Linked DNA regions of Homo sapiens: regions 2, 3, 4, 5, 6 and 7 are each linked to region 1. The links are contacts of gene promoters, found by promoter capture Hi-C in blood cells and fetal thymus (Javierre and others, 2016). All regions are on one chromosome and are shown on one strand. The core of a region is centred on a gene start or on the middle of the fragment in contact, and the rest is flanking DNA. Distances in the headings are between cores, read along the strand shown.

Evidence for each region. The method cuts DNA at HindIII sites, captures the fragments that hold promoters and counts their contacts. A CHiCAGO score of 5 or more calls a contact.
Region 2: a contact is called between a fragment that was not itself captured here and the fragment with the promoter of FAM131C in region 1, in 1 of 17 cell types (activated CD4 T cells). The highest score is 5.8, in activated CD4 T cells.
Region 3: a contact is called between a fragment that was not itself captured here and the fragment with the promoter of FAM131C in region 1, in 5 of 17 cell types (endothelial precursors, non-activated CD4 T cells, naive CD4 T cells and 2 more). The highest score is 7.9, in endothelial precursors.
Region 4: a contact is called between a fragment that was not itself captured here and the fragment with the promoter of FAM131C in region 1, in 9 of 17 cell types (naive CD4 T cells, naive CD8 T cells, endothelial precursors and 6 more). The highest score is 8.1, in naive CD4 T cells.
Region 5: a fragment that was not itself captured here is called in contact with the fragment with the promoter of FAM131C in region 1 in 14 of 17 cell types (naive CD4 T cells, fetal thymus, naive CD8 T cells and 11 more); the score reaches 15.8 in naive CD4 T cells.
Region 6: a contact is called between a fragment that was not itself captured here and the fragment with the promoter of FAM131C in region 1, in 15 of 17 cell types (naive CD4 T cells, endothelial precursors, activated CD4 T cells and 12 more). The highest score is 25.7, in naive CD4 T cells.
Region 7: a contact is called between a fragment that was not itself captured here and the fragment with the promoter of FAM131C in region 1, in 13 of 17 cell types (endothelial precursors, naive CD4 T cells, M0 macrophages and 10 more). The highest score is 14.2, in endothelial precursors.

What each region holds. Positions count from the first base shown.
Region 1 is chr1:16,071,946-16,075,174 of GRCh38, reverse strand. FAM131C (family with sequence similarity 131 member C) reads left to right here and starts at 1,524. Exons shown (of 7, transcript NM_182623.3): 1 at 1,524-1,754. The coding sequence starts at 1,733. RefSeq lists an enhancer at 762-1,261 and a silencer at 1,470-1,629. The HindIII fragment of the contact is 12,659 bases long and covers 1-3,229 here.
Region 2 is chr1:15,823,172-15,826,400 of GRCh38, reverse strand. No RefSeq gene overlaps it. Among named protein-coding and RNA genes, the nearest start is that of UQCRHL, 17 kb to the right of the region's middle. The HindIII fragment of the contact is 2,551 bases long and covers 351-2,901 here.
Region 3 is chr1:16,294,127-16,297,355 of GRCh38, reverse strand. FBXO42 (F-box protein 42) reads left to right here. Exons shown (of 10, transcript NM_018994.3): 4 at 2,439-2,573. Among named protein-coding and RNA genes, the nearest start is that of FBXO42, 57 kb to the left of the region's middle. The HindIII fragment of the contact is 1,218 bases long and covers 1,141-2,358 here.
Region 4 is chr1:16,275,131-16,278,359 of GRCh38, reverse strand. The region is part of intron 4 of FBXO42 (F-box protein 42); the gene reads left to right. Among named protein-coding and RNA genes, the nearest start is that of CPLANE2, 40 kb to the right of the region's middle. The HindIII fragment of the contact is 3,464 bases long and covers 1-3,189 here.
Region 5 is chr1:16,255,142-16,258,370 of GRCh38, reverse strand. It overlaps FBXO42 (F-box protein 42), which reads left to right. Exons shown (of 10, transcript NM_018994.3): 5 at 1,612-1,765; 6 at 2,550-2,660. Among named protein-coding and RNA genes, the nearest start is that of CPLANE2, 20 kb to the right of the region's middle. The HindIII fragment of the contact is 4,911 bases long and covers 1-3,229 here.
Region 6 is chr1:16,239,380-16,242,608 of GRCh38, reverse strand. It overlaps the pseudogene MT1XP1. Among named protein-coding and RNA genes, the nearest start is that of CPLANE2, 3.8 kb to the right of the region's middle. The HindIII fragment of the contact is 5,672 bases long and covers 1-3,229 here.
Region 7 is chr1:16,218,165-16,221,393 of GRCh38, reverse strand. It overlaps the pseudogene ANO7L1. Among named protein-coding and RNA genes, the nearest start is that of ARHGEF19, 7.1 kb to the right of the region's middle. The HindIII fragment of the contact is 4,750 bases long and covers 1-3,229 here.

The DNA of each region.
Region 1 (3,229 bases), core at 275-2,774:
TATTTATTTTGAGATGGAGTTTCTCTCTTGTAGCCCAGGCTGGAGTGCAGTGGCATGGTCTTGGCTCACTGTACCCTGGGTTCAAGCAACTCTCCTGCCTCAGCCTCCTGAGTAGCTGGGATTACAGGCGCCCACCACCACCATGCCTGGCTAATTTTTGTATTTTTAGTAGAGACGGGGTTTCACCATGTTGGCTAGGCTGGTCTCAAACTCCTGACCTCAGGTGATCCGCCCACCTCGGCCTCCCAAAGTGGTGTGATTACAGGCATGAACTACTGTGCCAAGCCCACACCCAGCTAATTTTTTATATTTTTGGTAGAGACGGAGTTTCACCATATTGGCCAGGCTGGTCTCGAACTCCTGACCTCAAGTGATCTGCCTGCCTTGGCCTCCCAAAGTGCTGGGATTACAGGCGTGGGCCACCGCGCCTGGCCCCTCCTTATTCATTCTTCAAAACATTTCTCTGCTGCCACCAGTGAACCTGGCTGCCTCAACTGGAAAACAGACACAAGAGTGCCTGCCCTGCCTGATGCACAGGTGGGCATGAAGGAGAGAGCGAGATGCTATGTGTGAGTGAGGGTCTCAGACACTGACATTGAGTGCTGTGTGCATGGGAAATTTTGCTAAAGGATCTTCACACCTCAGGAGCTGGGATGTGTGTGTGTGTGTGTGTGTGTAAATGCAAGCGTGCTTCAATGTGAGTGTATAACTGTCATTGTGTGGGTGTGAGTGGGTATGTACACATGGGAGACTGTGTATTCATGTGTAGGTATGTGAGTGTGTGTGCGTGTATGTAAATGCAAGTGTGCATATATATGTGTGTGTATGACCATCAGTGTGTGAATGAGGGGTATGTACACATGGGAGAGTGTGTGTGTAGGTACGTGCGAGTAAGTGTGAATGACTACAGAGGCCGTCCAGGGCTGGGGAAAAAAACCTGTGCCTCAGTTTACTCTGCCCTAGACAAGCCCTGAGAGGCAGCCTTGCCCCCCTCTTCAACCATCGCTGGAGACCCTTCATCCCGCCGCCAGGCCACCAGCGCACTATCTACCCGCACTCTCTCTACCCCACCTCTGGGCATATATTATTTTGCATATGTTAATTTCAATAGCTCTGAATGAGGCGCTGACAGTCAAAAGTCGCTGAACTCACAGCTTAGGGCTCTCAGGCAAGGCCTCTAACTTCTGCGAGCCTCACTTTCATCCTCTAAAAATAGGCCCAATGGAACTGTTGTTCTTGCGCGCACCCCTCCTCGCTCCCAAGCCTTCGTGCCCAGTCGTCGTTGGTGTGGTTAAATTCATGTTGTTTACTTTGTGCCCCAAATGCCAGGAGTCTCCCCGCCCCCTCTGTCCCCTTCCCTGACCTTCAGCCCGGGCAACCCCAGGAGGTGGGGGAGCCCCGAAGGGACAGAGATGGCCCTCCCGCGCGCTGCGGCCACAGGTGTGCCCGAGCCTCCCGGCTGCGCTCCCCCGGGCCCCGCCCGCCGCGCCCCGCGGTGTCGCCCTCCCCTGGCAGCGGCGGGCACTGCGCGGGAGGCGGCGGCGCGAGGCGAGCCGGGCGCGGCGGCAGCAGGGACGACCCAGGCTGGAGCTGAGGCCGAGCTGAGGGCGCCCGAGCCCCCCGCCCCGCCCGTCCTCTGGCTCCGCAGCGCTCAGCCCCGGGCCCGCGGAGACATGAACGCCCCGCGGCCCCACGCACCCCGGGCGCAGCGGCCCGGCCCCGCGGCCCCGTGATGGGCTCCTGCGTGTCGCGAGGTGAGGGGGCCCGGCCGGGGGCGGGGGGATCGGGTGCCGGGGACCCGCGCAGTCCCCTCGCCGCTCGGAGACCTGGGGGATGGGGCTGGCGACCCGCCCTTCACGGCCCCGCCGCACCCCTGGGGACGCGGCGTCCTGAGGGGGACAGAGCTAGGGACGGTAGGGGGCGGGGGCAGCGCAGAGAGCGCACGTGCAGAGGTCACCGCATCCCCGCCCCAGTTTGCAGCCCCGCAGGTGACACGAAGCAGGGTCCCGTGCCGTGCCGCGCTCTCATCCCTACAGCCACACACCCCCTGCCGGGTGCCTGGGAACCAGCTCTGGTTCTTCCTGGCTTCCCGGAGGAACTGCGGGCACCGGGAGAACTAGCAGACCCTCCCTTTCCCACCCCTCCCCAAGACACAGGTCTTACCAGCTCACCCCCACAGCCCCTTCCCACGTCTTACCGGGTGCCCCCATCTGCAGAGCCCCTGAACCCTGTTGGCAGGAAAGGGTTAATGGTGGGGCACAGGTTATAAAGAAGGTTCCCCTGCCCCCTAATCCTCCTCCCCACCCCCATCCTTGGACAGGGGACAGAAGGGCCAGAGCACAGCTGATGTTCCCAGTTACCCCTGGGCCTTTCTCTCTGTGTCTGACCTGTCACCCTCCACTCTCCCCCACGTGGTACCCAAGGAGGTGGAGGGGACCTGCCCTTGCCTGGGGGCCCAGGGCAGGCCCCAGCCTCTTCTATCTGTGAGGAGGGGACACACAGTCTTGCACAGAGATTGGGGGATGGGCAGTTTGGTCTTTGGAGCCCCCTACCTCCACCCCCACCCATCACCACCAGCTTTCCAACAGGCTGTTGGGCAACATTTTAGACAAGCGATTGGGCTGAGCCCTTCTCCCACCTTGGTCTGTTCACCCCACAGTGGGATCAGGGGGGTGTGACTGGGAGTGGGGGTGGCTTTGGCCTTGGTTCAGGCTCTGCAGGCTGAGGCCAAACCCACTGACCACCACCACACCCATCACCCCTAGTAGCTTACCCAGAATAGAGGGGACCTTGTCCTGGGGGTATTGAGCAAGGAGCACAATGACCTTCCCCCATCCTCTGGACTCGAAGGGCTTCTGCTCAGGAGTTCCTGTGGGCATTCAGGTAAGTGGCTCAGGATGTCTCTGGGAGGTATCGGGGTGGAATCCCGGCTGGGGAAGGGGAAGGTACAGGGTCAGGCTGTGTGGGGTTCCTTTACTTATCCATGCATTAAGCTGATATTAACATGATAGCTGCCGTGTGCCAGGCACCGTGTGCATGCTGGGCATCCAGCAGCAAGGAACCCAGCACAGCACCTGGTACGGGAGGCCTGCAGCCTAGCGGGAGGGGAAGGAAGTTTGAAGAGTGAGGAGTGCTGAGGGTTCTTTAGGAGCACCAGGCTCCAGAAACCCCAAAGGTTCTAGGCAGTCTCTGGCTGGGGCCAGCTCCAGGTGGAGGGGATCTGAGTGTT
Region 2 (3,229 bases), core at 377-2,876, 250 kb after region 1:
GAGACCAGCCTGACTAACATAGTGAAACCCCGTCTCTAGTAAAAATACAAAAATTAGCCGGGAATGGTGACGCACAGGAATGCTGGCTCGACAGGCTGAAGCAGGAGAATTGCTTGAACCCGGGAGGCGGAGGTTGCAGTGAGCCGAGATCGCACCACTTCACTCCAGCCTGGATGACAGAGTAAGACTCGGTCTCAAAAAAAAAAAAAAAAAAAAGTGAAGGGAATGGTCAACTATGAAATGCTGCTGAGAGATTAAGCTGAGGCATGAAAATTGAGTGTTGTATGAATAAGTGGAAGTCATGGGTGACCTTGACACAAGCTGTCTGGGTGGAGTAGGAGGCAAAAGCTTGATTGGAATGGATTGAAGAAAAAAAAAAAAAAAACAGTAAGTATGACCTTTGGAAAAGTCTGACAGTGAGGCTTAGAGGGGAAGATGCCAGAGACTGTGATGTTGGAAAGTACCTTCTGTTTTAGGAAGTTCCTGGGTCAGTGCAGCAAGAGGGAACTCAAAACCTTAGGGCTTCTGGAGGAATTGTTACACTCCCAGGATGTGGTCTCCTTCTACCCTCATATCTGCTCCATGATAACATGAATAATAAATTATTTCTTGGCTGGGAGAACTCCAGCTCAAAAGATCCTGCTGCCTCTGTCTCCCAAAGTACTAGGATTACAGGCGTGAGCCACTGTGCCCGGCTGTATTTTTCTTTACTTTTTTTTTTTTTTTTTGAGACAGAGTCACGCTCTGTCACCCAGGCTGGAGTGCAGTGGCCTGATCTCTGCTCACTGCAACCTCTGCCTCCCAGGTTCAAGTGGTTCCCCTGCCTCAGCCTCCTGAGTAGCTGGGATTACAGGCATGTGCCACCACACCCGCTTAATTGTTGTATTTTTAGTAGAGACGGGGTTTCACCATGTTGTCCAGGCTGGTCTCGAATTCCTGACCTCATGACCCACCTGCCTTGGCCTTCCAAAGTGCTGGGATTACAGGCGTGAGCCACCGCACCCAGCCATAATTTTCTTTTTAAAAGACTTTCTTCCCCCATATTGGACCCTGCTCTAGTTCTACCACATCCCAGTGAACAACAGTGAAATAAAAAGATTGTCTACGTGCTTAATTTGAAAACGTGGGTTGGGCACGGTGGCTCACACCTGTAATCCCAGCACTTTGGGAGGCCGAGATGGGTGGATTGCCTGAGGTCAGGAGTTCAAGACCAGCTTGGCCAACCCGGTGAAACCCCATCTCTAATAAAATACAAATATTAAGGTTGGTCGCGGTGGCTCATGCCTGTAATCCTAGCACTTTGGGAGGCTGAGGCAGGCAGATCACCTGAGGTCTGGAATTCAAGACTAGCCTGACCAACATGGAGAAACCCCGTCTCTACTAAAAATACAAAATTAGCTGGGCGTGGTAGCTCATGCCTGTAATCCCAGCTACTCGTGGGGCTAAGGCAGGAGAATCACTTGAACCCAGGAGGTGGAGGTTGCAGTGAGCTGAAATCGTGCCACTGCACTCCAGCCTGGGTGACAGAGTGAGACTCCGTCTCAAAAAAAAAAGAAAAAAAGGAAAACAGATATATCACTTTGGGGTCAAGCTCCACCTTCAGAATTTCATAAATTTTTTTTTTTTGAGACGGAGTCTTCCTCTGTCACCCAGGCTGGAGTGCAGTGGTGCAATCTCGGCTTATTATAGCTGCAGCCTCCCAGGTTCAAGCAATCTTCTGCCTCAGCCTCCCAAGTAGCTGGGATTACAGGCATGCGCCACCACAGGCGGCTAATTTTTTTTTTTTTTTTTTGAGACACAGTCTAGCTCTGTCACCAGGCTGGAGTGCAGTGGCGTGATCTCGGCCCACTGCCACCTCCACCTCCCAGGTTCAAGCGATTCTCCTGCCTCAGTCTTCTGAGTAGCTGGGATTACCAGCACGTGCCACTGCGCCCAAGTAATTTTTGTATTTTTAGTAGAGACAGGGTTTCACCATGTCGGCCAAGATGGTCTCTATCTCCTGACCTCGTGATCCGCCCACCTCAGCCTCCAAAGTGCTGGGATTATAGGCGTGAGCCACCGCGTCCAGCCTCATTTTTGTGTTTTTTAGTAGAGAAGGGGTTTTGCCATGTTGGCCAGGCTGGTCTCGAGCTTCTGACCTCCAGTGATCTGCCTGCCTCGGGCTTCCAAAGTGCTGGAATTAGAGGCATGAGCCACCCAACCCAGCTCACCTTCAGAATTCTATGTACTGATAAATATAATCAAAAGTCAAGTCCAGGCTCGGTGGCTTACCCCTGTAATCCCAGCACTTTGGGAGGCCAAGGCAGGTGGATAACCTGAGGTCAGGAGTTCAGGGCCAGCCTGGCCAACATAGTGAAACCCCATCTCTACTAAAAACACAAAAAATTTCCTGGGTATGGTGGCACGCCCCTGTAATCCCAGCTGCTCCGGAGGCTAAGGCAGGAGAATTGCTTGAACCCAGGAGGCAGAGGTTGCAATGAACAGAGACCACACCATTGCACTCCAGCTTGGAAAACAAAAGTGAAACTCCCACTCAAAAAAAAAAAAAAAAAAAAAAACAAGTCAAAATGTGTATTTTCTTTTTTTAATCATCCGGCTCAGCCTCCTGAGTAGCTGGGACTACAGGTGATGCCACTACACCCGGCTAATATTTTGTATTTTTGATAGAGATGGGGCTTCTCCATGTTGCCCAGGCTGGTCTCCAACTTCTGAGATCAGATGATCCACTCACCTGGGCCTCCCAAAGTGCTAGGATTACAGGCGTGAGTCACTGTGCTTGGCCAATTTGTATTTTCAATGTATTACTTTATCATTCTTTATTGGAACATGTGATTAAATACAGATATAAAGTATCATGTATATTTTATCCTGCAACATTTATGCCTAATAGCTATTGAAGCTTTTTTTTTTTTTTTTTTTTTTGAGATGGAGTTTCACTCTTGTTGACCAGGCAGGAGTGCAATGGCACGATCTCTGCTAACTGAAACCTCCACCTCCAGGATTCAAGCAATTCTCCTGCCTCAGCTTCCTGAATAGCTGGGATTACAGGCATGCGCCATCACGCTGGGCTAATTTTGTATTTTTAGTAGAGATGGGGTTTCTCCATGTTGGTCAGGCTGGTCTCGAACTCCTGACCTCAGGTGATCCCCCTGCCTCAGCCTCCCAAAGTGTAGGGATTACAGATGTGAGCCACCGTGCCCAGCCAACAATTTTTTTTTTTTTTTTTTTT
Region 3 (3,229 bases), core at 500-2,999, 220 kb before region 1:
TGCTTTCATTACCTCTTAACTTGCTCAGTTTTCTGACTTGGCCTTCTTACCGTAGAGAGTCCCAGGGGTCTAACAGGAGGGCTGAATTAAGGGAAAATAAAAGAAGGTGGGGGGCTGGGCGCATTGGCTCTCACCTATAATCCCAACACTTTGGGAGGCTGAGGCGGGTGGATCACCTGAGGTCAGGAGTTCGAGACCAGCTTGGCCAACACGGTGAAACCCTGTCTTCACTAAAATACAAAAATTAACTGGGTGTGGTGGTGTGTGCTTGTAATCCCAGTTACACCTACTCGGGAGACTGAGGCAGAAGAATTGCTTGAAGCTGGCAGGTGGAGGTTGCAGTGAGCCAAGATTGTGGCACTGGACTCCAGCCTCGGCCACACAGCAAGACTCTGTCTCAAAAAAAACAAAAAGCGGGGGGTGGGGGGTGCGGGGGAGGGGGGAGTTTATTCCCAGAGCTAGTATAGTGTGTATCACAGAGGTGATTATAGTAGTGGCATTGGATGAGTCAACAGTAGTAGCATTTCCCTTTTTCTGAACTCGGGTAACTAGTGCCAGAGTTCAGAAGAGACCTTAAAAATATTGGTGTGCTAAACTGAATTAGACCTACAAATATGCTAGATGATCATTAAAGCCATGCACAGGGCAATGAATCTGTGAATTTCTTGTTGGTGTTTTTTGTTTTTGTTTTTTTTTTTTTTTTTTTGAGATGGAGTCTTGCTCTGTCGTCCAGGCTGGAGTGCAGTGGCGCAATCTTGGCTCACTGCAACCTCCGCCTCCCGGGTTCAAGCGATTCTCCTGCCTCAGCCTCCTGAGTAGCTGGGATTACAGGCATGCGCCACCACGCCTGGCTAATTTTTTTATTTTTAGTAGAGACGGGGTTTTGCCATGTTGGCCAGGCTGGTCTCGAACTCCTGACCTCATGATCCGCCTGCCTCAGCCTCCCAAAGTGTTGGGATTACAGGCATGAGCCACTGCACCTGGCCTGAATCTGTGAATTTCTTTTTCCTTTCCCCTTCCTTTTATATGACACTGAACCGTTAGTTTCACATGAACATTGAGAAGTCTTTTTTGTTTACTTAATTTTATTTTATTTTATTTTTACCTCCTGCGTGCATGAAATGGATGGCAAGGAAAGCTTTGCTTGGGCCTCTTCCTGAAATCCAAGATGGCAAATGCAAGACTGTAAGGAATGTGATCGTCATTTCCAAAGGATAGAGACCGCAAGGGGCAGAACTTAGCACTCATGCATCTTTTCTAGACTCTGGCTTTGGTCTTTGTAGTTTTTGGGTAACAGCCCTTCTGATAGTCATTGCCTCTTTTTCTTAGGAATGCCTGGTGATGTGTATACAATCATCTAATCAAAGAAGGCTTTTTTTAGAGATCCTGGTGTTTTTTAAATGTTACCGTTCTGTTTTCTAGTCGGCTCCAACCAGCATGCCTTGGTAGCTCTTGGATACATATTGGGACTTAATGATTTCCATGCTTTTTCAATCTGTTGCTTTGGGACTAGTCCAAGACCATACTACTATTGAGTTTCCCCCACTGGCCTTTGGAATTAATAAAAACTGTATTTCTTCAATCACATTGGACTTTATGTGTGGTTACTTCATAGTATTGATTAAAATCATTTCATTGTGTGTCATATAAAGATTCATTTATTGGCCGGGCATGGTGGCTCATGCCTGTAATCCCAGCACTTTGAGAGGCCGAGGCGGGTGGATCACCTGAGGTCAGGAGTTCGAGATTAGCCTGGCCAACATGGTGAAACTCCATCTCTACTAAAAATACAAAAAAATTAGCTGGGTGTGGTGGTGCACACCTGTAATCCCAGCTACTTGGGAGGCTGAGGCAGGAGAATCGCTTGCACCTGGGAGGCAGATGTTGCAGTGAGCCGAGATCATGCCACTGCACTCCAGCCTGGCTGACAGAGGGAGACTCCATCTCAAAAAAAGAAAGAAAGAAAAAAAAAAGATTCATTTATTGATTTGTGCTTCAGGTTTAATTTGAAAACAAAAACAATAGGAGAATTGGAGGAAAGGAATGGGAGGACAGAGTACATGTGTTGGCATACCTTTGCTTAGCTCTAGAGGATAATGATGCAGATTTAGATCAATTATGTAGCTGTGCTGAAATTTCCCTCATTTGAGCACCTTTAATGTGAATTATTATGTGTTCTTGCTGGACTTACACTGTTACATCATTGTCAACTTGCTTAGTGTGCTCAGAAATAAAATTTTCATAGCTTTCCTCTGGACCTTGTTTTAAAGGGTAATATATTGATCCACTTGGAGACAAGAGGCTGGTAATAGAAATTTGGTACTTGGTAACAAAATTGCTGAATGTGTGAAATAAGCTTTGAAAAATATATGTTATGGTTAAAATGTTGGAAGGGCCTCAGAATTTTCACAGCAGTTATTTGTGTATTTTCTTTCTAGGTGCATGCTATTATGATGCTAATCAGTCTATGTATGTGTTTGGAGGCTGTACCCAGAGCAGCTGCAATGCTGCTTTCAATGACCTCTGGAGACTTGACCTAAACAGCAAAGAGTGGATCCGACCTTTGGCTTCAGGTAAGAGATGAAATGCTGATCTTTGCCTCCTTACCAGGTGACTCCCTTGGCATGGAAACTCTACCTGATCATTTTTGGTGTTGGTCTCAAGGATGGGTTACTGGGACTCAGGTCCTTAAGTTTAATGTGCCATGTAAATGATAATAGTAATATGCTTGTGTAAGTCTTTGTTTTTTGTTAAATTATACTTTATCATTAGTAATGGTGCCCTGCCAAAATTGCTGTACTGCTGTGTGAATTCATTTGCATGGTTTTCTCAAGTATACTCATACAGGTGTGATACATCATTTGGTAGGAGGTTGAAGTAAGAACAGAAACACAGAGTCGTGAGAACTGTAGTTGACTGACAGAAGCTATTGTCCTAGGGCTAAGGTCTCTGAATATCTGTTGTTGTTGCCAGCTCAGATATTTGGGGAGTGTATGGGACGTGCCTCTGCTAGTTACTCTTAACAACCCAGGGGTGTGGGAAGATTCTACAGTAGGTACATTCCTACCCAGTCCCACTATGCCAGAAATCTGGCAGAAAGAAACTAGATTATTTTCTTATTTTTGACCTAACCTCTCCTGGGGGAAAAAATAAAAACAATGGTTTTTGCACTCATGAGGCAGGGCAATTTGAGGAGGCATAGATTGGAGGGGTTGGTGTGATGGAGAAA
Region 4 (3,229 bases), core at 208-2,707, 200 kb before region 1:
TTGAGATGGAGTTTCGCTCTTGTTGCCCAGGCTGGAGTGCAATGGCGTGATCTCCGGCTCACTGCAACCTCCGCCTCCCGGGTTCAAGCGATTCTCCTGCCTCAGCCTCCCGAGTAGCTGGGATTACAGGCATGTGCCACCATACCCAGCTAATTTTGTATTTTTAGTTGAGATGGAGTTTCTCCATGTTGGTCAGGGTGGTCTCAAACTCCCAGCCTCAGGTGATCCGCCCGCCTCGGCCTCCCAAAGTGCTGGGATTACAGGCATGAGCCACCACGCCTGGCCTGGATGTGGATTTTTAAAAATTATTTATTTTTTGATACAGGGTGTCACTCCATCACCCAGGCTGGAGTACAGTGGCACGAACATGGTTTACTGCAGCCTCGACCTCTTGGGCTCAAGTGATCCTCCTGCCTCAGCCTCCCTAGTAGCTGGGACTATAGACATATGCCACCAAGCCCAGCTAATTTTTTAAATTTTTTGTTGAGACAGGGTCTTGCCCTGTTGCCCAGGCTGGTCTCAAACTTCTAGGCTCAAGTGATCCTCCTGCCTCATCCTCCGAAAGTGCTGGGATTACAGGCCTGAGCCACCACGCCCAGCCTGGATGTGGAATTTTTTAATTTTTTTTTTTTTTTTGAGACAGAATCTCGCTCTGTCACCCGGCCTGGAGTGCAGTGGCGAATTTCGGCTCATTGCAACCTCCGCCTCCTGGATTCAAGCAATTCTTCTGCCTCAGCCTCCTGAGTAGCTGGGATTACAGGTGCATACCACCACGCCCGGCTAGTTTTTGTATTTTTAGTAGAGATAGGGTTTCACCGTGTTGGCCAGGCTGGTCTCAAACTTCTGAGCTCAAGTGATCCGCTTGCCTCGGCCCCCCAAAATGCTGGGATTACAAGCATTAGCCACCATGCCCAGCCTGGATATGGAATTTTTAAAAATAATATATTAGTAGTGGGGGCAGGGAGGAGAAAAAAAGAAAAAAAAAGAATGATGTATTAATGTGCTTGTCACTATTCGATTCTGCTTTTTAATATTGTTTTGCACTAAGCACTTTATACATTTTTAAAATTATAATATGCAAATGTGTTAGGAGAATGCCAAATCTTGTGGCAATGGGGAAGAAGTGGATGATGATTAACTGCTGAATATCAGACAGTATAACAAGAGGACACACGTGCCTTTCAAATATACTCCTAGCTTCTATTCTGTCTTAAAAACGAGTGATTGATCTCATTGTTTTAGTATTTTGTTTGTGAATGAGACAATCCAGTTCTACTCACAGATCTTTCCTTGATTACCAAATGTATTTATTACCAAAATGTATTAATATCTGTCCTTAGCTATTTCTCCTCCATGTTGAAAATCCTGCCTCCTTTAACTTGTAGTCATTGGGTCAAACTCATGAGACTTTTCTATTCTTTCTTAAAACCATCTAAAATAAAACCTTCTTATTTTAGTAGTGTCAGTGAAAATAAGCAGTGACATTTCTTAGAATTCTCAGCTTTCAAATCTACATGCTGTGATCCTGTCTGCCTACCATCTGGACAGTTTTTGTTTACTCTTGGGTTCCCCCATGGAGTAAAAGTCTCAAATCATCTAGCATTGTTTCTCTTATTCTCAGGTATCCATGTAATCTCCTAACAGTACTTCATGTTTTATTACCACAATAAATTTCATTTCATATGATGCCTTATCCTTGTATATCTCCAATGCTATATAGATTAACTTTATGTCCTAAATGTAGTTATAAGAGGCTAATTCTAAATGGGAGAGGAACGCAAGATACTATCCCTGAGTCATTTCTAACTTCTGCTTCCCAGGAATGACCCTCTTGGTTTCAAGGACACTTGGTAGTGCCATGGACCAATTCATGGCTCGTGCTCAATGTTTGGCTGTTTAGTTTCTATGTAATTAGGATCAGGCCAGTTTCTCAAGTTCTCCAGTTTTCTTTTCTTTTCTTTTCTTTTTTTTTTTTTTTTTGAGACAGAGTGTCGGTCTGTCGCCCGGGCTGGTGTGCAGTGGTGTGATCTCGGCTTACTGCAAGCTCTGCCTCCTGGGTTCACGCCATTCTCCTGCCTCAGCCTCCCGAATAGCTGGGACTACAGGTGCATGCCACCATGCCCGGCTAATTTTTTGTATTTTTAGTAGAACGGGGTTTCACCGTGTTAGCCAGGATGGTCTCGATCTCCTGACCTCGTGATCCACCCACCTCGGCCTCCCAAAGTGCTGGGATTACAGGCGTGAGCCACCGCACCCTGCCAAGTTTTCCAGTTTTCATAACTGTGAGGAGATGTGCTGTTCCTAGGTGGGTAAGAGCTGTGATGGGTCGTTTATTGACTTATAAATATCACCTTGAATTCTAGGAGGCTCCTTTGCCCTTTTTTGTTTATTTATTTTGAGACGGGGTCTCACTCTGTTGCCAAGGCTGTTCTTGGCAACAATTCTCCTCCCTCAGCCTCCCGAGTAGCTGGGATTACAAGCACGTACCACCACCACGCCTGGCTAATTTTTTTAGTAGAGACGGGGTTTTGCCATGTTGGCCAGGCTGGTCTCCAACTCCTGACCTTAGGTGATTCACCCACCTCAGCGTCCTAAAGCGCTGGGATTACAGGCATGAGCAACCACTCCTGGCCTCCTTTGTCCTTTTAAAACTCAGAAGCTATTTCTCATTCCCCCTTGAGGAGATGAACTCTTGAACTATGGCTTTTTATTTTTATTCTTCCTTTTCTGTTTTTGGGTAAGAGACAGGGTCTAGCTTTTTGTCCCTGAGTGGAATACAGTGGCATCATCATAGCTCACTGCAGCCTCAAATTCCTGGGCTCAAGCGATCCTCCTGCTTCAGCCTCCCAAGTAGCAAGGACTACAGGCATGAACCACTATGCCCAGCTATTTTATTTTATTATTTGTAGAGACAGCGTCTCACTGTAATGCCCAGACTGGTCTTGCACTCCTAGCCTCAAGTGATCCCCCTGCCTTGGCCTCTCGAAGTACCGAGATTACAGACATGAGCCATCGCACCTGATGTACTATGCATTAATTGATTCTACTTTTCAAATAAATTGTGCCCCTGATAATTTCCTCTTTTCTGTAGTTCTCTCTAGAAGTGATGATGGGTTGTGGGTTTTATATTTGATTTGTTGGCTTTTATGTTGTGTCCCTTTTTTGTCTTCTCTCCCATTTTAGTAAGCTTTCTGAAATCCCACTGCTGAATCTCAGAATGTTTCTTGCT
Region 5 (3,229 bases), core at 288-2,787, 180 kb before region 1:
AAAAAAAGGAAGAAGAAATGAAAAATAGCTGATGCCACATGGTGTTCTTAGATGCTCACCCTGTACTCTTCAGGACTGATGCCTTCTCAGTAAATCGTATTGTTCCCCTAAGTGAGATCACAAGAAAGACAGTCCTCTGCTCTACCTTCTCAACCTTGAGACTTTGTAAGTGACACCATTAAAGCAGTCTGAGCAGGGCTTTTCAAACAGTGTTCTGTAATGTGCTACTGAAAGAGGAAGCAAAGCTCTCCACCTAGATTGGAGCATCTCGACTGCTGTCAGGTTAATGTAGTGTTGGGATTTCTTCTGCTTAAGATATCCTTTGAAAAATGAGTCCTGCAGCTTTAACCAAAAAGAAAAAAAAAAGATTTTAAAAAAAAAAGTATTCTCAGCGAGGCATGGTGGCTCACGCCTGTAATCCCAGCACTTTGGGAGGCCAAAGCGGGTAGATCACCTGAGGTCAGGAGTTTGAGACCAGCCTGGCCAACATGGTGAAACCCCATCTCAACTAAAAATGCAACAATTAGCTGGGCATGATGGCAGATGCCTGTAATCCCAGCTACTCAGGAGGCTAAGGCAGGAAAATCACTTGAACCCAGGAGGTGGAGGTTGCAGTGAGCCGAGATTGCATCATTGCACTCCAGCCTGGGTGACAAAGCGAGACTCCACCTCCAAAGGAAAAAAAAAGTATTCTGGTATTTACTGACACCTGGATATTGGGACAAGTTACTTTGGTCTTGAGGAAACTAAAGGTGACATGTAGAGTGAGGGATGGGGAAAAATAGCAATTGTTATTTCAAAGACAATAGATTTTGAAAAATTATGCTCCTGTAAGACATTTGTTATCTCTAAAGTTTTCCAGCATAAGCCAAAGTGTTTTTTTTCAGAATTTGGTCAGTGTAGCCCAGAGGTCCAGTCTAGATGGTGTTTGGTGTAAGACTTATGGTTTCACTGGAATTCCTTCACACCAATCCTTGAAGGTCTGCCCCATTTGTGCTAGGCTGAGGCTATCTGGTTATGTGAAGCCCATAGCTAGGGGCCTGGAGGTCCCTATGTTAAAATTTGACTCACGGGACAAATAAGAACTGCCTCCTGCCTCCTTTTCTTACCTGTGTTTTGTAACGAGTTATTTTTAAGTTGCATCCAGACATCCAGCCTCTATGTATACTTCTCCCTGGTCCTCTACATTCTTTCTTTTCTTTGTGACCTCTGTTAAGTTTGTTAAAGGGATGGGAAGGGGTGCTCATTTGTTGAGCACTTTCTATGTGCCAGGCATTATGTTAGGTGCTTTGAATATACTATTTAATACTCAAAACAGCCTTATGAGATAGGTACTCTCATCCCTAATTTTAGGTGAGCAAATTATAAACATGAGAGAGGCTAAGTAACTTTTCTCTAACTCATATTTCTCTGTTAATAATAAAAGACGTGTGAATTAGTGATGATTTTCTCTCAGACTCAAACCCAGTTTTCTTTCCACCTTTCCTCTACACTTTGTAGTATTAGTTCCCCTTTTGTTGCTCTTCCAGGGAAAGGTGATCTATGGATAGCCTAACTACGGATTGTTGTGAGATCCTGAATGCTAACCATGGTGTTACTGACTTTCCCTAGGGTCCTATCCTTCCCCCAAAGCTGGAGCAACTCTGGTCGTGTACAAGGACTTGCTAGTGCTGTTTGGTGGCTGGACGCGGCCAAGCCCTTATCCCCTACACCAGCCAGAGAGATTCTTTGATGAAATACACACTTACTCACCCTCTAAAAATTGGTAAGTCACAAAGATAAACTCTTTAAATCTGGAAGAAAAGGCCTTAAATCAGTGGATTCTTTGTTTTTTTGTGTCAAGAGTCCCTTTGAGAATTAGATGGAAAGCTGTGGACTCTTTTCCCAGGAGGGGAAAAATGCACATATTCACAGATTTTACCAACAGTTTCAGAGAGTTTACAGGACTCTCTTAGAACCCTGCATTTAGAATCCTTATTCTAAAGAGAAAAAATAGAAGAGATTTATTCCTCTTTCAAGAAAAATGAATGAGCCAGTTGAAGAACAGCGAGCTCTTCAGCTTTGGCTGCTAACACTCCAGGAGTGTTGTAGATCCAGATGATTCCTTACTCCTAACTGTGTCTCCAAGACTTACTCTGAATTGTTTTTCAAACATATATCTCTTAATGACAGCAACCGCCGTTTCTTGTAATGGAAGACTTAGTACGTGGCGCTTGTTAGCTGTTACTGATCAGGACCATAGGGAAAGGTAGCAGGTGGCAGGTGGTGCTTTGTCAGCAAACCAGGCCAAAGAAGCCATGATCTTGTCTCTTGTCATCGTTTTCTCATCTCTCTCCCTCCAGACCGTTTACATTCAGAACTTGAAAGAAGATAACTTTAAGCAAACTTGTAGGAAAGGCATAAATACATTATGCCATCCTCTACTTATTATCCCAACAAATCTCTGCTGAAAGTGATAGGATTATCATTTTAAATGGATGCCTACTTACTATTTTTACATAAAGTGTGTGGTGCTGACTTCTTGACTTCCTCCTGTCTTTTTACATTAGGTGGAACTGCATTGTGACAACCCATGGGCCACCTCCCATGGCTGGCCACTCCTCCTGTGTGATAGATGATAAAATGATTGTCTTTGGTGGCTCTTTAGGATCCCGGCAAATGTAAGTACATTTGGTTTGCTCCATATGAGCCTGAAGGTAAATACTCCTGGGAATAACAGGTTTAAAAGTGAATTAGGGACCAGGTGCCTAATTCACACCTGTAATCCCAGCATTTTGGGAGGCCAAGGTGGGTGGATCACCTGAGGTCAGGAGTTTGTGACCAGCATGGCGAACATGGCGAAGCCCCATCTCTACTAAAAATACAAAAATTAGCCGGGCATGGTGGCACACACCTGTAGTCCCAGTTACTTGGGAGACTAAGGCAGGAGAATCGCTTGAACCTGGGAAGTGGCGATTGCAGTGAGCCAAGATCACCCCATTGCATTCCAGCCTGGGCAACAGATCGAGACTCTTAAGGAAAAAAAAAAAAAAAGTAAGTTAGGGTCAGTATTCCTGAGCATGGCTCTAATTAATCCAATTAGTTATCTCATCCTAGCATTCTGTTCTTTAATCCCTTAATCACAGACCAATAAATTGAAAAATTTGCTCTATAAAATCATAGTTATATAGAATCTCTTTGACATATGGTTCTATTCAGTAGGATCAAATTCTGATGGAACCTCCACCTT
Region 6 (3,229 bases), core at 542-3,041, 170 kb before region 1:
TGGAGAATTGACCACTGAGCTTGGTGGCGAGGCTGGTGCCCTTGACCTGACTTGATTAACTGGCTGTGGCTCCAGCTTGGAGAATCCCTAAAGCCAGTGAGCCTGGTGGAAGGACTGCTAGGAGGCAGAGCAAGCATTCCAGGTGGGAGTGGAGCACTCCTGGTGCCAGGCCATGCTGAGGGAGGGGTGGGTGTTATTCTAGGAGCCAAGAGGATTTTAAGCCTGGTGTCCTAGCTGACCTCCCGCCCCACACCTACCCAGGATCCTCAGGCAGGGCTCTCCATGCCTCATTCTCACCCCAGCTCGGCCTGTGTGTCTGCCCACCTGGGCCTCCCATCCACTCTGTCAAGTTGGTGACTGTGTCCCTGCCTTGTGGAGTCCTCTCAAGGTCTTGTGGGGACCTTGTCCAAGAGGTTTTTAATAAATATTTGTGGGGAGACCAAACCAAGAAGAAATGAGTGGATTAATCACAGGGCTCTAGGCCGGGCACAGTGGCTCATGCCTGTAATCCCAGCACTTTGGGAGGCCGAGGCGGGCAGATCACGAGGTCAGGAGATTGAGACCGTCCTGGCCAACATGGTGAAACCTTGTCTCTACTAAAAATACAAAAATTAGCTAGGCGTGGTGGCATGCGCCTGTAGTCCCAGCTACTTGGGAGGCTGAGGCAGGAGACCTGCTTGAACCTGGGAGGTGGAAGTTGCGGTGAGCCAAGATCATGCCACTGCACTCCAGCCTGGCGACAGAGCAAGGCTCTGTCTCAAAAAAAAAAAAAAAAAAAATCAGAGGGCTCTAGACTAGAAGAGTCCTTAGGGAGATGTTCTACATGTTTTGCTTGAGGCCCTGAAAGGAGAAGCAGCTGGCTTAGGGGGACACATAGTTTAGTGGTCAGAGGGGCACAGGAGAGCAGAACTCATAGACCAACACGGTCCACAAGCGTCCTTCTGAAACGCAGTTCTAACCATGTCACTTTCAGGTCCCAACAGTCAGCTGGCCTCCTTTGCCCAGCAGCAGTGTTTACATGAGGTCTGTGGACCCTGTTATGGACTGAATTATGCCCTGCTCCACCCAAATCCATACATTGAAGCCCTAGCCCCCAATGTGACCATATTTGGAAATAGGTCCTTTAAAGAGGTAATTAAGGCACGCTTTTCATCTGTCCCGCTGAGTGTTTGCCTCTTGATCAGGAACTCCTGCTTCTCCCTGCCTCTAAATGGACCCCAACTGCTCCTGCTCGCCTGATGGTTCCTGCGCCTGTGCCGGCTCCTGCAAATGAAAAGAGTGCACATGCACCTCCTGCAAGAAGAGCTGCTGCTCCTGCTGCCCTGTGGGCTGTGCCAAGTGTGCCCAGGGCTGCATCTGCAAAGGGACGTCGGACAACTGCAGCTGCTGTGCCTGATGCCAGGACAGCCCTGCTCTCAGATGTAAATAGAGCAACCTTATAAACCTGGATTTTTTTGGTACAACCCTGACCCATTTGCTACATCTTTTTTTCTATGAAATATGTGAATGGCAATAAATTCATCTAGACTAAAAAAAAAAAAAAAAAAAAAGGTAATGAAGGGTGAGCATGGTGACTGATGACTGTAATCCCAGCACTTTCAGAGGCCAAGGCAGGCAGATCACTTGAGGCCAGGAGTTTGAGACAAGCCTGGGCAACAAGGCAAAACCGTACCTCTAAAAAAATACAAAAGAAAAAGTCCGGGCATGGTGGCTAATGCCTGTAATCCCAGCACTTTGGGAGGCCAAGGCGGGCGGATCACCCGAGGTCAGGAGTTCAAGACCAGCCTGGCCAACATGGTAGAACCCCGTCTCTACTAAAAATACAAAAATTAGCTGGGTGTGGTGGCAGGCGCCTGTAATCCCAGCTACTTGGGAGGCTGAGGCAGGAGAATCACTTGAACCTGGGAGATGGAGGTTGCAGTGAGCAAAGATCGCGCCATTGCACTCCAGCCTGGGGCACAAGAGCGAGACTTTGTCTCAAACAAACAAACAAAAATACAAAAAAAAAAAAAATTAGCCAGGCGTGCTGATATGCACCTGTAGTCCTAGCTCCCCTCGGGGCTGAGGCAGGAGGATTGCTTGAGCCTGAGGAGGTCGTGGCTGCAGTGAGCTGAGATCACACCACTGCCCTCTAGCCTGGGTGACAGAGTGAGGCCCTGTCTCAAAAAATAAAAGAAAAAGGTAATCAAGGTTAAATGAGACCATAAGCATGGAGCCCTAATCCAGTAGGACTAATGTCCTATTTGTAACAGAGGAAGAGACACCAGACATGTATAAGCACAGAGAAGAGGCCATCTGTAAGCCAGGAAGAGAGGCCCCACCCAGAAACCAACTCTGCTGGCACCTTGATCTTGGACTTCCAGCCTCTAGAACTATGAGAAAATAAATTTCTGTTGTTTAGAGTACCCAGACTGTGGTATTTTTGTTACAGCAGCCTGGGCTGACTCATATAGACCCCAACTTCAGAACTGCCTAGTGCTTTTGTCAAATCTGCAGGCTCACAGACCTACCCAGCCCCTGACACAGAATGTCGGGGTTGGATGTGTGAACCCCAAATATCTGAGACAGGTCACAGTCAATTTAGAAAGTTTATTTTGCCAAGGTTAAGGATGTGCCCGTGACAGCCTCAGGAAATCCTGAGACATATACCCAAGGTGGTCAGGGGTACAGTTTGCATTTAAGTTTTAGGGAGACATGAGACCTCAATCAATATGTGTAAGATGTACATTGGTTTGGTCTGGTAAGACAGGACAGCTTGAAGCAGGGGCTTCCAGGTTAGAAATACATAAGAGACAAGGCCAGGTGCAGTGGCTCATGCCTATAATCCCAGCACTTTGGAAGGCTGAGGTGGGCGGATCATGAGGTCAGGAGATCCAGACCATCCTGGCCAACATGGTGAAACCCCGTCTCTACTAAAATACAACAACAACAAAAATTAGCCGGACATGGTGGGGCATGCCTATAGTCCCAGCTACCTGGGAGGCTGAGGCAGGGGAATCACTTGAACCTCAGAGGCAGAGGTTGCAGTGAGCCGAGATTGTGCCACTGCACTCCAGCCTGGGCGACAGAGTGAGACTCTGTCTCAAAAAAAAAAAAAGTAGATAGGAGACAAAAGATTGCATTCTTTTGAGTCCTTGATCAGCCTTCCACTGAATACATAATTTTATTTATTCAGCTCTGTCACCCAGGCTGGAGTGCAGTGATATGATTCTGCTCACTGCAACCTCCA
Region 7 (3,229 bases), core at 287-2,786, 150 kb before region 1:
ATCCCTTTTCCACATGTCCACTCATTTGCTGTTTACTTCTCCGTCTACCCACCATCCATCTAGCCATCCATCCACATGCTTTTAACCATGCCCTGGGGAAAAAGGTCCTGCAAAACCAAAAATGAATTAGAACCCATTGCTGCACTTCCAGAGCTCCCTCTGCAGTCAGGAAAAGGTGGGGGGCTTCCCCTAGCCTAGGATCATGGCACCAGCCTCTTGGCCCTAGGATGCACATTTCTGTTGCCCCCTGTGATAGGAGTGCCCACATCTACAGTTTGCTGCCCTGGCCCTGCAGATGACCCAGAACCCAGTGACAGGCTTGAAGGAGCCCTACTTCCAACCGCACAGCTGCCTTTCCCACCTACTCACCAGCTCTGCAGCCATCCTCACTGTGGTGAGGGGACACTGGGCCTTTGCTCTGGAAGGACTGGCTCCTCCAGGGTGGGTGCACTGGAACCCTGGCAGTCCACTCTCCAGCTCTGACAGCCCTCTCTCCTGGCCCCCAGCTCTGTGTGGTGATGATTTTCCTGGTATCTGTCATAATTTACCATGGCATCATCAGCATTGCAATGTTCCACACTGGCAACTCTGTGCTCATGACCCAAGCGAATGTCCTTTGGGGCAATGGAGGGTGAGAGCACTGTTCCAGGCTCCAGGCCTAATGTGGGCATCTTCAGGTTTTTTTCATCCCACCAATGGATGGGCTCCCGGTAATGGCCCACCACACCCGCCTAATTTTTGTATTTTTAGTAGAAATGGGGTTTCACCATGTTGGTCAGGCTGGTCTCAAACTCCTGACCTCAAGTGATCCACCCATCTCAGCCTCCCAAAGTGCTGGGATTACAGGTGTGAGCCACCGTGCCTGGCCTGTTCTTCCTCTAAAACCAGGTAATGTGTTGCAAGGCTATCTTTGTGTCATCTGGGAACTGGGAGTCTGGTGTCTCCAGTCACCCTCAAGCGAGAGTGGCCAGGGACACATGGCTGGCATTAGGGGTTGGTAGGTTAAGGACAGGAGCATAGGGGCTGACCTGATGGGCTATGCCTGCCCCCTTGCGCCCAATAGAATTCTGACCAGCTCTGCCCTTTGTCCAGAGATGCCTCCATGAAAATGCCTTCACTTTCATTTTCAGTTTGTCAATTTCTATTCTTCTCCCTTCTACATGGCATTCTTCAAAGGCAGGTAAGGACCACTCCCCAAACCCCAGCCTTAGGGCTGTCGCCTCCCAAGGAAGCAGCCCAGCAAAGCAGCAGCACCCTTTGGGCTCCAGATTTGTTCCTAGCCAGGTCTTGCTATGGACCTTGAAGCTGGTTCTTGATTTCCCTGGGCGAAAGTCTTAGCAACTGTAATTTATGGGTACACCATTGCACAGCTGTAAAATCTAACACCTGCATTCAGTCTGTCCTACAGCCCTCACTGGGTGGCCCCAGGCCTGACAATGCCACCTCCCAATGCTGCAGTTTGAGTTTATCACCATCTTTTGGGGGCCTTCCTGCTGTGCACCCTTGGTTGGATGCTAGGGACACAGAAATGAATCAGAGCTGGTCCTTTTTCCTAGAAGCATTGAGTCTTTAATGAGATCTGGTTAGGAGTCATAAAATGCTGGACTCTCAGGAGGTGCTGTTATTGTGTAATTGCCATTGTCATTTGATGGGATGGGAGGGATGGTCACCAAAAGAGCCCACTCCCCAGCACAATGACCCCATCTTCCTGGGCCATAAATGCCACATTGGCTGATCATGGGTTGAGCAGTACATAGATTCAGGCCATGGTCCCAGCAGACTTCTGGGGCCTAGTAGGGTAGGCAAGGCCTCCCATCAGCTCTGTCAGCAGGGTTAGCTGTCAATTCAGGGGGTGGCCAGAGGACCAGGAGCAGTGGGGAGAGGGGGTCAGCCTCAGCATGGAGTTTAGCTGCAGCCTGGCTCCAGAGAGGGAGAGCAAATTACCCACAGATGCAGGGGGCCCTCAGGTTTGTGGGATACCCCGGTCAGTATGGCACATTTGCTCAGCATGCCGAGTGAGGATGTGATTATGTACCCCTGGGTTGCTGATTCTGGGGGGTTAGGGGGTAGTCATCACAACCTCAGGTCTGGCAGGGGTAGGATCTGCCTCTGGGGCCTCCAAAGTGGGTAGGAGGAGCAGGTGGCCAACTCTCTGCACCAGCAGGGAGGTGGGGTAACCCCTATGCAGCCCCAAAGCCCTGAGTAAGGTGCTCTGTGTCTGCCAACAACAGTGCGGTCCTGGTGGCTGCCACATTCAGGTCACCCAGCAGCTCATCATCATCATGGTGGGCAAACAGCTGCTCAACCACATGGAAGAATTTGTTGGGCTGTGAGTGTTGGGGGAAGAACGGGGGACAAGGCTGGGCCTAATCAGGCCATTTGGAGGGCTTTTATAAGAGCAGAGCAGAAAAACCCTTTACTGGGACAGAAGATACGGGCACAAGTCCTAGCCCTGCTTCTTGTAAGCTGCGTGGCTTTGTGTCTCTCTGGGCCTCAGTTTCGTCATCTGTACAATGGAGACAATAATACCTCTCCATGAGAGTTGAGGGGATTATGAGGCGTTCAACAGGAAACAGCTTTGCAAATGGAGGGCTTTCTATTACTATTTTTTTCAGGGGGCAGTGATATTTCAGAGACCAAGAATGACTATGTGGGAAGTGCAGAGTTGAGAGCACTGGACTCGAGTCTAACAGATTGGATTTGAACACTGGCTCCACCACTTACAATTTGGGGAGCCTGGGCCAAATTCTCCAGGTGTGTTTCCTCATCAATACAGTGGAAATCATCATGGTGCCTGCCTCTAAGGGGTGCTGGTGATAGAAGTGGCAGTTCCTAGCACAAGGCCCTGTTATGACCATTATCTGGTTGCCCTGCCTCCAGGAAACGGAAGGCTTGGTGGCAGAAGTGGCAGCTGGCAGGGCAGAGGGACACCCAGATCGGGCAGGAGCTGCAGCACTGGGAGAAGGAAGGACTATGAGCTCATCAAGTGTCAGGGCCTGTTTGATGAATACCCAGGGATGGAGGAGCAGTCGCTCAGCAGCGTGTGCCCTGGGCATGAGTGGGGCCCCTGGGGGCCTGGCACAACAGGGGAGGTGGCCCCGGGCCTGACACTCCCTGCCTGCCAGAGCTGCAGTTTGGGTTCATCACCATCTTTGTGGGAGCCTTCCTGCTGGCACCCCTGTTCACTCTGCTCAACAACCGGGTAGAGATTGGACTGGACGCCCACAAG